Linked DNA regions of Homo sapiens: regions 2 and 3 are each linked to region 1. Evidence: promoter capture Hi-C in human tissues and cell types (Jung and others, 2019). All regions are on one chromosome and are shown on one strand. The core of a region is centred on a gene start or on the middle of the fragment in contact, and the rest is flanking DNA. Distances in the headings are between cores, read along the strand shown. Region 1 holds the start of CTSZ (cathepsin Z). Region 2 overlaps STX16 (syntaxin 16). Region 3 has its middle 110 kb from the start of EDN3.

Region 1 (3,496 bases), core at 442-2,941:
CAGAGCACCCCAGCTCTCCCCATGCTACAGGAAAGAAAAGCTTACACCTTGGGTGCCTTTTCACCCAGATTCAGGGACCAGGGCCCAGGACATCACAGCTCAGGCATCAGAGGCCAAGCACAAGGGGCCCTCCCCTCTCCAGGCTTGTTTCTCATGCTGTAGAATGTGCTGTTGGACTTCACAGTACCTGGATCATAACTATGGGTACCTGGAGGGAGGGGCACGATATCTCTTACCACACAATTTTGTGAGTTCTTAGCTTTTTCTTTAGAAGAAGCCAAAAACCGGCCGCTTTGGTAGATGCCACCTGATGACCTGGCAAGGGCAGCTGTGTCTGGGTTTCTTCCTCACAAGGACCCAGCTCCTATAGTCAGGGAGGCCAGAGGGTTGACATGGGAGGAAGAAAGGCCCCCTCTTGGCAATTCTCTTTCCACTCCTTTTATGCCCAGAGGTTGGGAGGCCTCGCTCCCACCCCCACCGCCAGCTCAAGCTTGGGGACTTCTCCCAGGATGGCCACCCCACCCCGCCTTCTGATGACTGATGGACACTAATGGTTTCCATGAGCGACTTGCCAAACAAATAAGAGACACATCAGTAGGTAGAGCCCCGGGGCCACACTTTGCCTCAGTGACCACTTTTTGGGGAACAAGGACTGAAACTTCTGGGCTGACGAAGCAGCTCTCCAGCCTTGCTCTCCACTCGGACAGTCATGCGGGGATTCCATGGCCACCTCAGCGCTTCCGGGAATGGTCATGGAAGCTTCTGGAAGTCAGGAGGCAGCCACTGTGACTTCCCCTTGCCCACGTGGCACGCTTGGAATGTGGTGAGTGCCACTGAGTATGGAGAGAGTCAGGCAAGCTCATCTGTGGGCCCTGTGCCAAGGGCCCCCAGCAGGGGCCTGTCAGGTCGCAGCCCAGAATGCCGGGCCCTGTTCTTACCAGAGAAGAAGGCCATGGTGTGGGCCCAAGGGCCATGACAAACAGAGGGGCCGCAGGGAGCGAGAAGCCCTCCCCCAGTTACAAAACCACGTCCTGGGGGGCCACTTCTGCTTTTGGTTCCTCATTTGACTAAGAAGAGTTTCGTTAGCAGAAAACCTTTTCAAGGCGTCTTTGGAAGTCACATTGGATAACTCCTGATGCCTGCGCCAAGTGGAATCTTCCTTTGGGGCATTTTCTAGAAGGATCCCTCCTTCCTTCTCTGCAAAAGGGAACCGTCCCCCCGAAAGGGCCTGGGCCTTTGGGAAAAGGGGTTTAGAAAGCCAGGCGCGGGGACCCTTCTTTGGGGGCGGTGGCCGCATCCCAGGATCCCTTCCTAGGGGAGGCCTGGGCCCAGATGTGAGGCTGGGGGCCTCTCCCCAGGGCTCAGGGCCCCAGGAATGCAGGGCCAAGGGGGCCCATGAGCCTGCGGCCCCCCACCCCGAAGCCAGGAACCCCGGCAAATGAGTCCAGCCGGACAGTCCCGCGCTCAGGGCGGCGGCCGGCGGCGGGGTCAGGCTGGGGTCTGCCCGGCGACCTCGCGCCTGGCCCGCGAGTTCAGGTGCCCCGGAGCCAGGGAGGGAGCGGGGCGCGGAGCCGGGCGGGGAGGGCAGGGGTCACCGGGCGGGGCAGGAGCAGCGATGGGACAGCCCCGCCCCGGGGGAGTGTCCCGGCCTGGCCGCCGCAGCCTTAAGGGCCGGGCGGGGCAGGGGCCCAAAGTGCGGGGTCGGCCGGGTGCTGGGCCGAGGCCGAGGCCGGGGCGGGATCCAGAGCGGGAGCCGGCGCGGGATCTGGGACTCGGAGCGGGATCCGGAGCGGGACCCAGGAGCCGGCGCGGGGCCATGGCGAGGCGCGGGCCAGGGTGGCGGCCGCTTCTGCTGCTCGTGCTGCTGGCGGGCGCGGCGCAGGGCGGCCTCTACTTCCGCCGGGGACAGACCTGCTACCGGCCTCTGCGGGGGGACGGGCTGGCTCCGCTGGGGCGCAGGTGGGCACCGGCGGGGAGGCAGCCCTGGGGGGACGGGAGGCCCATCGCCCGGGCCAGGCGCGCGCTCTGCCTCCTGGGGGCCCTGCGTCGCCAACAGGCCTTGGAAGGTCAGATCCAGCCGCTTCGTTTTGGGGGTCGCTCCTTCTCTTCCACATCCAGGGTGAGCCCTGATGTTTGTGGGGTTGGACAAGCCCCACCTGGCCAGAAAGCCAGGCCAGCCCCACCTCCTCGGCCTCTGGGGGTGGCCCTTACGGCGCGGCATGGCTGGGGGAGCAACCCGGTTCCCTCCTTTCGGGGGTGCCCTGCCTCCTTCACATTCTGAGAGCGCTGGAGCCTCCTAGTGTGAGGTGGGCCCACACCTGGCTCACCTCTGGTGATTGTGGCCCCACTCCCATGCCCTCAGGTGTTGGGAAAGGCGGGAGGGCCCTACCGAGGGCTTCCTGGGCCCACGGCCCCCGGGAGCCCCAGCACCGATCTGGGTGGGGATGATCTCTTCTCAGCACATACCCCCGGCCTCATGAGTACCTGTCCCCAGCGGATCTGCCCAAGAGCTGGGACTGGCGCAATGTGGATGGTGTCAACTATGCCAGCATCACCCGGAACCAGCACATCCCCCAATACTGCGGCTCCTGCTGGGCCCACGCCAGCACCAGCGCTATGGCGGGTGAGTGGCCGCCCTTTGACTGTGGGCCAGGAAAGCCCATCCCGGCTGCCTGTTTATAGGCCCAGGCAGCTCAGCCCGCGGTTCCAGGGGCCTGTGATTCAAGGCCAGGTCAGCCTGGGCTGGGGTGCTAAGGCCGAGGAGCGCGGGCCTTTGCCCTCTGCTGAGGTGACCCAAGCTGGGTCATTCTGGGGCTTTTGGGTGACAGGCAGGACTAGGACTGAATCCCAGTGACAAGTGGCTGCCAGGTGCCCTCTCTCCCCCAAAGCTTGTGACCTCAGCCATTGGGATAGAAACAGAAATGCAAAATCACTGAGTCCCCAGGCTGTATTTGAGGATACAGAAGTAAACTGCTTCTCAGCACAGATGAAAGCCTGTCCTGGGCTTGGAATATTGGGTGAGGCTAGTTGGCTACAGCCCATGGCCTAACCTGGTCACTACCTCCAGCCTGGTGGGTTTCTATCTTAGGCTTTTGGCAGGAGTAGGGTAGGGAGGCTCTTAGCAAAGAGGAAGGGGAAACTAAGGCCCTCCCTATCAACGAGGCTGCTGCACCCTGCTTTGGGAGAGAAGGCGGGAGAAGGGACAGCTGCAAACCAGCCCCAGGCCCACCCCACAGCATTTGGAAGGGACTCTGCTATCCCCTCTCCAGTCACAGCACAGGGTCCAGGAGCCTGGATTTCCCCTGGAGATGGGACTTGCGTGGCCTGGGAGTTTGGCCCATGAGCACTGTGGTGCTGTTGCCTCTTCCCTGGCCTTGGTCCTCATGGGTCAGGCCTGCTGTACACCCATGTGAAAAGGATAGACTACAGTGTGGCTGCCGCTGTGGGCCAAGGCTGGGGGACATGCGTTTGCGTGTGCTCCATCTCACTGACGCCT
Region 2 (3,366 bases), core at 390-2,889, 330 kb after region 1:
AGTCAGCACACAGGCCAGGGGCCAGCTCCAGGCTGGGTCTGTCTCTCCCACCTTGGGAAACCCAGCGCTAAAACAATTTTTTTTTTTTTTTTTTGAGACGGAGCCTCGCTCTGTCACCCAGGCTGGAGTGCAGTGGTGTGATCTCGGCTCACTGCAACCTCTGCCTCCCGGGTTCAAGCTATTCTCCTGCCTCAGCCTCTTGAGTAGCTGGGATTACAGGCGTGTCCCACCCGGCTAATTTTTGTATTTTTTGTAGAGACGGGGTTTCACCATGTTGGCTAGGCTGGTCTCGAACTCCTGACCTCGTGACCGCCTTGGCCTCTCAAAGTCTGGGATTACAGGCGTGAGCCACCGAGCCCAGCCCCTCCTTAAAACAGTTTCTAATCAGATCCGTTATTTTACCCAAATGGGTTGAGGGAACAAAAACCAACCCTCATCACCCTATTTGGTGAAAATAAATATAAAAAAAGATGATCCTCTCTTAAAGGGTCACTTTCCTTCAGGGGTTTGTAAGGCTCAGCACTTTAAAAAGCTTGAACAGAAGTCCGGTATTGCCACTGTGGACTGTTTTTGAGGCAAGTTCCCTAATGTGGACAGCCCCACACCTAAGAGCAGCAGATCTAACTTGGAACGTCTCAACCATGGGTTAAAATCAGATGGGATGAAAGAACACCTGCAGTGACTCTCAACAGCTACGGAAGTCTCACATTGCAGGGCTGACTGATGAGGTGCTGGCTTCTTATTCTCCGGCCCTCTTTCCTAAGCAATGTTTGTCAGGGAATACCAGGTCCGCTTCCTGAAATGCCAGGGCCCCTCTAGGACCTTATCATTCCACAGCCACATCAGTAATAGGAAAACCACCAATGGCTACCTGGAGGTGGCACCAACTTGGAAAGGGAAGGCTGGGCAGGGGTTTGGACACTAAGCCCATGAGCTGTTTGGACAACTTCAATCTCTGGAATTGAGTTTAAATTTCTGTAAACAACTTTAAAGTCAACTCTAGAGAGACATTTTGTGTGACTGGTCCAAATAAAACAGCACATTTAATGAGGTCATATTCTTCTTAAACTTTTTAAGAGAAGCAAAAACAATGGAAAAGCCATTAAAATTTACACAAAGACCATTAAAACTCTACTAGTGTCAATTAAAACAAAGCCAATAAAACATGAACAACTTCAAAGTTACCATCACTTTCCACACTGTTCTACAGTTATAGGAATATATTCAAGCACCATATTGATAATAGGTAGGTAAACGATGAAGTCCTACTTTGGCGGTCTGACCCACGCTCACACAAACGAGGAGCTTCCTAGTCAAGATGCCCCCAGTCCTTGGCAATGTGCCTGCTTCCTGGGCATTGCTCAGTGGCAATGGAAGAGCCAATAAATCAAATCGCTGGTGGAATATTTTACTTTGAAATGGAGTGATGTTTGGTTAATAATTTGAGATCCACTAATCCTAAATGGGGTGACCCATTTAAAATGGCCTCTGTGTAAATTCACAGTTCATTAAATAGAGTCTGGTTTGAACAGGTCATTATGTAGTTAGTATATAAGTAATGGATTGAGCAAGGATGGCTGGGGATACCCATGGGGACACACTGGCTGAGTCTGGTGGCTTTCATAACACTGTCAAGCTTTCTTTTAATGTGAGATTCATTTAAATCACCAACTTAAATTTAGGTGGTTTTGCTTAGTAACCTCTTTTGGTTTACAGTAGAAAATGCAGTGCAAAAATTTTAAATGAGGAATATTCCATTTACAATTAATTTAAAACTTATGAAGCTGTTTTAACTGGCCCATCTAAATGTGTTAATTAACATCAATGATGGTTTCTTATTTTTCACACTTTGTTACTCTGATCATTAACAGTGATGGAAAAGCTAAATTAAGTTAATGGGGAACGGATTATAAATTCTTAAAGGACTTCTTAGTTTGTTTTCAACTGGAAAATATATAGAGAAAGATGAAGGGGCATTTTTGCCTCTACTCATCAATTTTTGGTACCAAATTTCTTAAAAACCAGATGGTTTAAAGAAAATTTTTCCAAAAATTATGTTAACATTCTGCTCAGACATGGCTGCTAAAAAAATAGCATATACACATATAATACTGAACAGCTTCTGCAGTGCCTGTAAACTCTCAGCTCATTTTCTCTTTCTAAAAAAAATATATATTATAACTGATCCCAGAACTCAATCTCTATTGTGCAGCAGTATCAAAGGTCCTTAAATTCTCAACAATGAAGGAAAAACAAAAACCCATTCCCCGGACCGCTTGAGCAGGACTAGGGAAGGAGGAGTCCGTGGATGCAAAGGTTCGCTGCCCCGACGCCCTCAGATTCCTCGAGGCTGCACCTCTGCGGGCAGCTGGCGGGGCGCAGGCCAAGCCCCTCACACCCGGGAGATCCACACGCGCGGCACACACGAAAACCCAATGCCACTTATCGAGACTTCACGCCAACGAGGACAACAATGAGCACAATGATGATGACAAATAATATTAAAATCACAAGCATCTTCCGATTCTTCTTTTGATACTGTTCTGCCTACAAAAAGAGGAGGGAAAAAAGGCCGTCATTTTCCCCAAAATCCCAAATCAAGTCCCACTCGTTTCCAGAATGAGGCTTCCAGATCTCTCTGCACAGTGACTGAGGTCTCTGCTACAGGCTACATGATTGTAATCCCTCCAATCAATCCCACGGAATTCAATCACCAGGAGTGGAAGAGCCCCATGATCCTGGTGCTGCTTATTTACCCTGGACGTGGAAATGGATTTGTTGGAAACCTACTACTAAGACAAAGCCTGACAGGGAAGTGAAAGCTCATGCTTCCGGGTGCAGCTGGGCCTGCTTCTCCCGGCTTTTCCTCCTGCAGGCCGTGGCAAGTGCCCCTGCAGCACGGGTCGCCTGTTCCCGGTCCGTGTTCCTGGAGCGAATGCACAGTTCCTTCACCGCGGAAGGAAACAACGGGCTGGAGGACCGTACCTGGCAGGTAGGCAACAGACACCCGGAAGAGGCCCCATTTCGACCTCCCCTAAATTTGGAAACAAAAACTCATCCTTTGAAATAAAAACAGACACGTGTGCCCCATGGATGTCATATGCAGAAAGATCCCTCTGAGGCGCGTCCTCCCAGTGCCGCTAACGATACAGCAAAGGAGCCCTCCAAGCTCAATCTGGGGACGAGGCTGCACCCTGCACATCTCTTCACCTTAACACCGCATCCTGGAAGCTCGGCAGGAGCGGGAACTCCATCATGCCTGCTAGAGAAATGCCAAAGGGCCCCACCTGGCTGGCGAAAGACGCAGAGCACTGAGAAAGGAGAGCCAGAGGACAGCAGAGTTCAGAGGGCGCCGGGAGGCACGTC
Region 3 (3,356 bases), core at 833-3,332, 400 kb before region 1:
ATTCTGGTTTTCCTCTTCTCGTGGGGGGCCTCCATCTTCTATTTTATCCCTGCTTCCTTTGCCCCCCTTCCTTTCAAAGAAACAATGCTTGAAGGTCACAAAGATATGAAAAATGAGAAGGCCTCACCTCTGGGGGCAGGGCAGGGGGTCCTCAATAGGCCCATGGGGACCAGGAAGCAATACATGAGGGCCAGCTCTCGTTTTCTTGTTTTTCCCACCCTGGCTCCTGTTTTCCAGGCTGCAGCCCTAATTCATTTGCTCTTTGTTTCTTGTTGACAGTGAAAAATTGTGACCTTTTTTGGTTTCGTTCTTATCGACAGCAAAGGGATGGATTTGCCTAAATAGAAAATAAGACTTGCCATGCATATTTCACACTGCTTGAGAAAGGTGAAGCTAGAAAGACCTTTTCCAATCACCAAACCTTTCAGCAAGCTACTGTCACTCTATCATTCATTTAAAGTCAACTTTGAGCACCATAATGCCCCCGAATCTAAACAACTTGTGTTCTCACCCGAGCACTAGCCTAGGAGCCCTGAAAAAAACATCCTACTTTTCTGGGTGTCTTGCTGAACCTATATGTTTATGACTAAAATCAGTCCTCCAAAAATGTGGCCAATAGAACTTTCAATCTTATTATAGGAGGCATGATAGAAGTGCTCCTGAATTCAAGGACAAGAAATTTTTTCCATCCAGAGTCCCACACGCCAAAAAAAGCAAATGAATCCTGTGTGTGGAGAGAGGTTCCATGAATCAGAGTCATTCATTTCTAAAGTAAAGGACATGTGAGATAAAACTCAACGTAATACACTCAGTGAATAAAAGTATTACTGTACGTGGTGGTCAAAGAGGGATGGAGAGAGCAGAGCTAGGAAGGAAAGAGCAAGGTACAGAAACAGGCCTAGGGAAATGGAAAAGGGAAAAAGAAAAAAAGAAAAGAAACAAGTAAGCAAAAGCTAAACTCCTTGACATTATCTCCCTAACTTGAGTGTAGAAAGTAGGGGTTTACTGAAGACACAGCCAGGTCCTGCCACTCTTTGTAACCTCAGGCTGCAGCATAGCCCCCAGAACATAGGAGACACTCAATAATTGCTTAAACAGTTGGACAAGAGGCAGAAAGAATATGAACTTTACGGAAGTCATCCCTCATTTTATGACTGAGATAAACCCAACGTAGCTCAATTTGCCTCTCCTCTTTTTACCCTTCTTTTATTGTTTTTCCTTCTTTCGTTATTTTCTTCTCTTCTTGAGGAGAAGATACAAAATACATTTTCACTCCTTGGATTGCAGCAAGCAGAGAAGCCACACCTCGCAAGAAACCTTACATCCAGGAATAAGGCTCTGGGATCTGGATGCACCTGCCTAAGTTTATGCAACTCTGCACCCAGGTTTACCCGTTTCTGATGAAACTCAATGGAGGTATGTCCAGCTAGAGGCTTGCTAGTGCTCTAGGAAACCGTTTCTCCAGCTGTCTCTGTCCACAGATGACTTGGGAGTCAGAAGGAAGGCTTGGCCTGCTCACGTGACTGTGAGGAAGACACCCCCTGTGGGTTTACACTGAGGCTCAGAAAGGACAACTTTTGCACTGGCAACCTGGCAGTGCCCTCTTTCAGTAAGCCCCCGTTTCCTAGCTGAGAAGTGAAAGGTTTGGATTGGGGATTCAGACTCTTTCCTCTATGGGCCTAGAGCTTGGCTGTTGTCACACAGGGAGAGCGGGAGCCAAGACTCAAGCTTAGTACTCCTGCTTCCTCAGCAGGGCTTCTTTCGCAACTTTGGGAAATTCTTGTTTGTGAGGATCAACACTTGCCTTGCTCTGGATGGCTTTCCAGCTCCCAAGTGTGGACTTCTCAAAGATTCTTAGAAACCCTGGAGCCCCCATCATCACCCAGAACCTCCAAAGCCATCTTGAGACTTCGGTGGCTACACATCCACTGCTCCTCCATTGGTCCACTGTGAAATTGGGACAAAAGATATCTTATTTTTTAGGATTCACATGGATTCATGATGGAGAGCAGGAACAAGTGCCTCATGTTTAGACTAAAGTGTGAATGGCTGATATAATTCTATTTCCAGCACATAAACATTGCAGGTGAGGTTCCACAATGAGGGCACATCCACAATGGATGGTTTCATGGCAAGGACGTCAGTGTTCCCCAAAATTTGACTTCTATTTCCATTTCATCTAATGTAATCCAGTCTCCTCTTGGGGAAGTTCAGTTCAACATGGGTTCTAAACATTTCTCATTTGCAAATTATCACGGAGCTGAAACTTCTAAAAATAAACATGGTAAGATTTATGGCAAATTGAAAAAGTCTCCTCCTTGAAAGTGATTCTCAAGTGAAACTGAGTGAGAACAACTGTTTCGGGCCATCCAGGAAACAACGGAGTCTGCAGCTGTTTCACATCCACGCTTCTTCCTTGGGAACTCTGTAGACTGGTAATTTGGGAATTAGGCATTTTGTTTCAATGACTATTGCAGAATACTTTTCAGACTATTGTTTTGAATATCATGAGATGGGCTGTTTAAATATTTTATTTCAAAGTTGGAGTCAAGAGTCCAGAGTGTGGATCCAGCTCCTCTCCCTCAGATGCTCATAAGGAGTTTGAATAGCTTTAAGTCAACGTGCAAGAATGCTGAGAACACAACAGCAATGCCCACAAGGAGACGGCTTTTCAGGGTTCATCCCCACCCTCACAGGAGCACGGAGAGGGGCTCTGAAGCAAGAAGTCTTTGAGAGCTGACACCACTAAGTAGAGAAAATGGACAGAAGCTGACTCGGCAAACCTTCGCCACCTGGTCAACTGTACATGGATAGATCAAATTATGCATTCACTCACTTGACAAATATTTATTAAGTACTCCAATCCCTTACCTTCTCTTTGCATCCAGCACAAGCCAGCTCTGGCCGCTTCCCTGACCACTGCGCACCTGCCCCAGGGCCCTTCCTGCCATTCCTCAAACGGGCAGAGCTCATTCTCCCCTGACCCCGGGCCTCAACCTGCTATTCACTCTGCCTAGAATACCCTTCCTGCTGTTCTGCACTCAGCCAGCTCCTTCTTCTTATCCCCGCCCCCCGCCCCTTGTGTAAAGGAGCCCTCTCCAATTACTGTCTATCCTATTTTGCTTCATTCACAGCCTTTGTCTTCTGAAATTGTCTTGTTTACTTATTAATACATGGTTTTTGTCCTCTCTCCACCAGAATGTCAGTTCCCTGAGAGAAGAGGGACCTATCTTGTTCAGGCTGTGTCCCTAGCGGCCAGCACGGCTCCCGAAATATAACAGGTCCTCAATAAACATCTGTTGAAGAAACGATGTTCTCTTTAGCCTATCTCAGCCGGCGGGTTGAGAGGGAGAAGT

The links. Contacts are between HindIII fragments. The study calls those that stand out against the background at their distance.
Region 2: a contact is called between a fragment that was not itself captured here and the fragment with the promoter of CTSZ in region 1, in 1 of the 25 tissues and cell types used here (spleen).
Region 3: a fragment that was not itself captured here is called in contact with the fragment with the promoter of CTSZ in region 1 in 2 of the 25 tissues and cell types used here (H1 embryonic stem cells and dorsolateral prefrontal cortex).

The regions. Positions count from the first base shown.
Region 1 is chr20:59,005,449-59,008,944 of GRCh38, reverse strand. CTSZ (cathepsin Z) reads left to right here and starts at 1,691. Exons shown (of 6, transcript NM_001336.4): 1 at 1,691-1,959; 2 at 2,460-2,623. The coding sequence starts at 1,817. RefSeq lists enhancers at 438-517, 658-767, 788-947, 1,628-2,439 and a silencer at 1,408-2,007. The HindIII fragment of the contact is 3,977 bases long and covers 266-3,496 here.
Region 2 is chr20:58,675,368-58,678,733 of GRCh38, reverse strand. STX16 (syntaxin 16) reads right to left here. Exons shown (of 9, transcript NM_001001433.3): 9 at 1-2,547. The coding sequence ends at 2,443. The region is part of intron 8 of STX16-NPEPL1 (STX16-NPEPL1 readthrough (NMD candidate)); the gene reads right to left. Among named protein-coding and RNA genes, the nearest start is that of NPEPL1, 16 kb to the left of the region's middle. RefSeq lists enhancers at 1,857-2,381, 2,382-2,907. The HindIII fragment of the contact is 6,742 bases long and covers 1-3,366 here.
Region 3 is chr20:59,405,045-59,408,400 of GRCh38, reverse strand. No RefSeq gene overlaps it. Among named protein-coding and RNA genes, the nearest start is that of EDN3, 110 kb to the right of the region's middle. The HindIII fragment of the contact is 6,284 bases long and covers 1-3,356 here.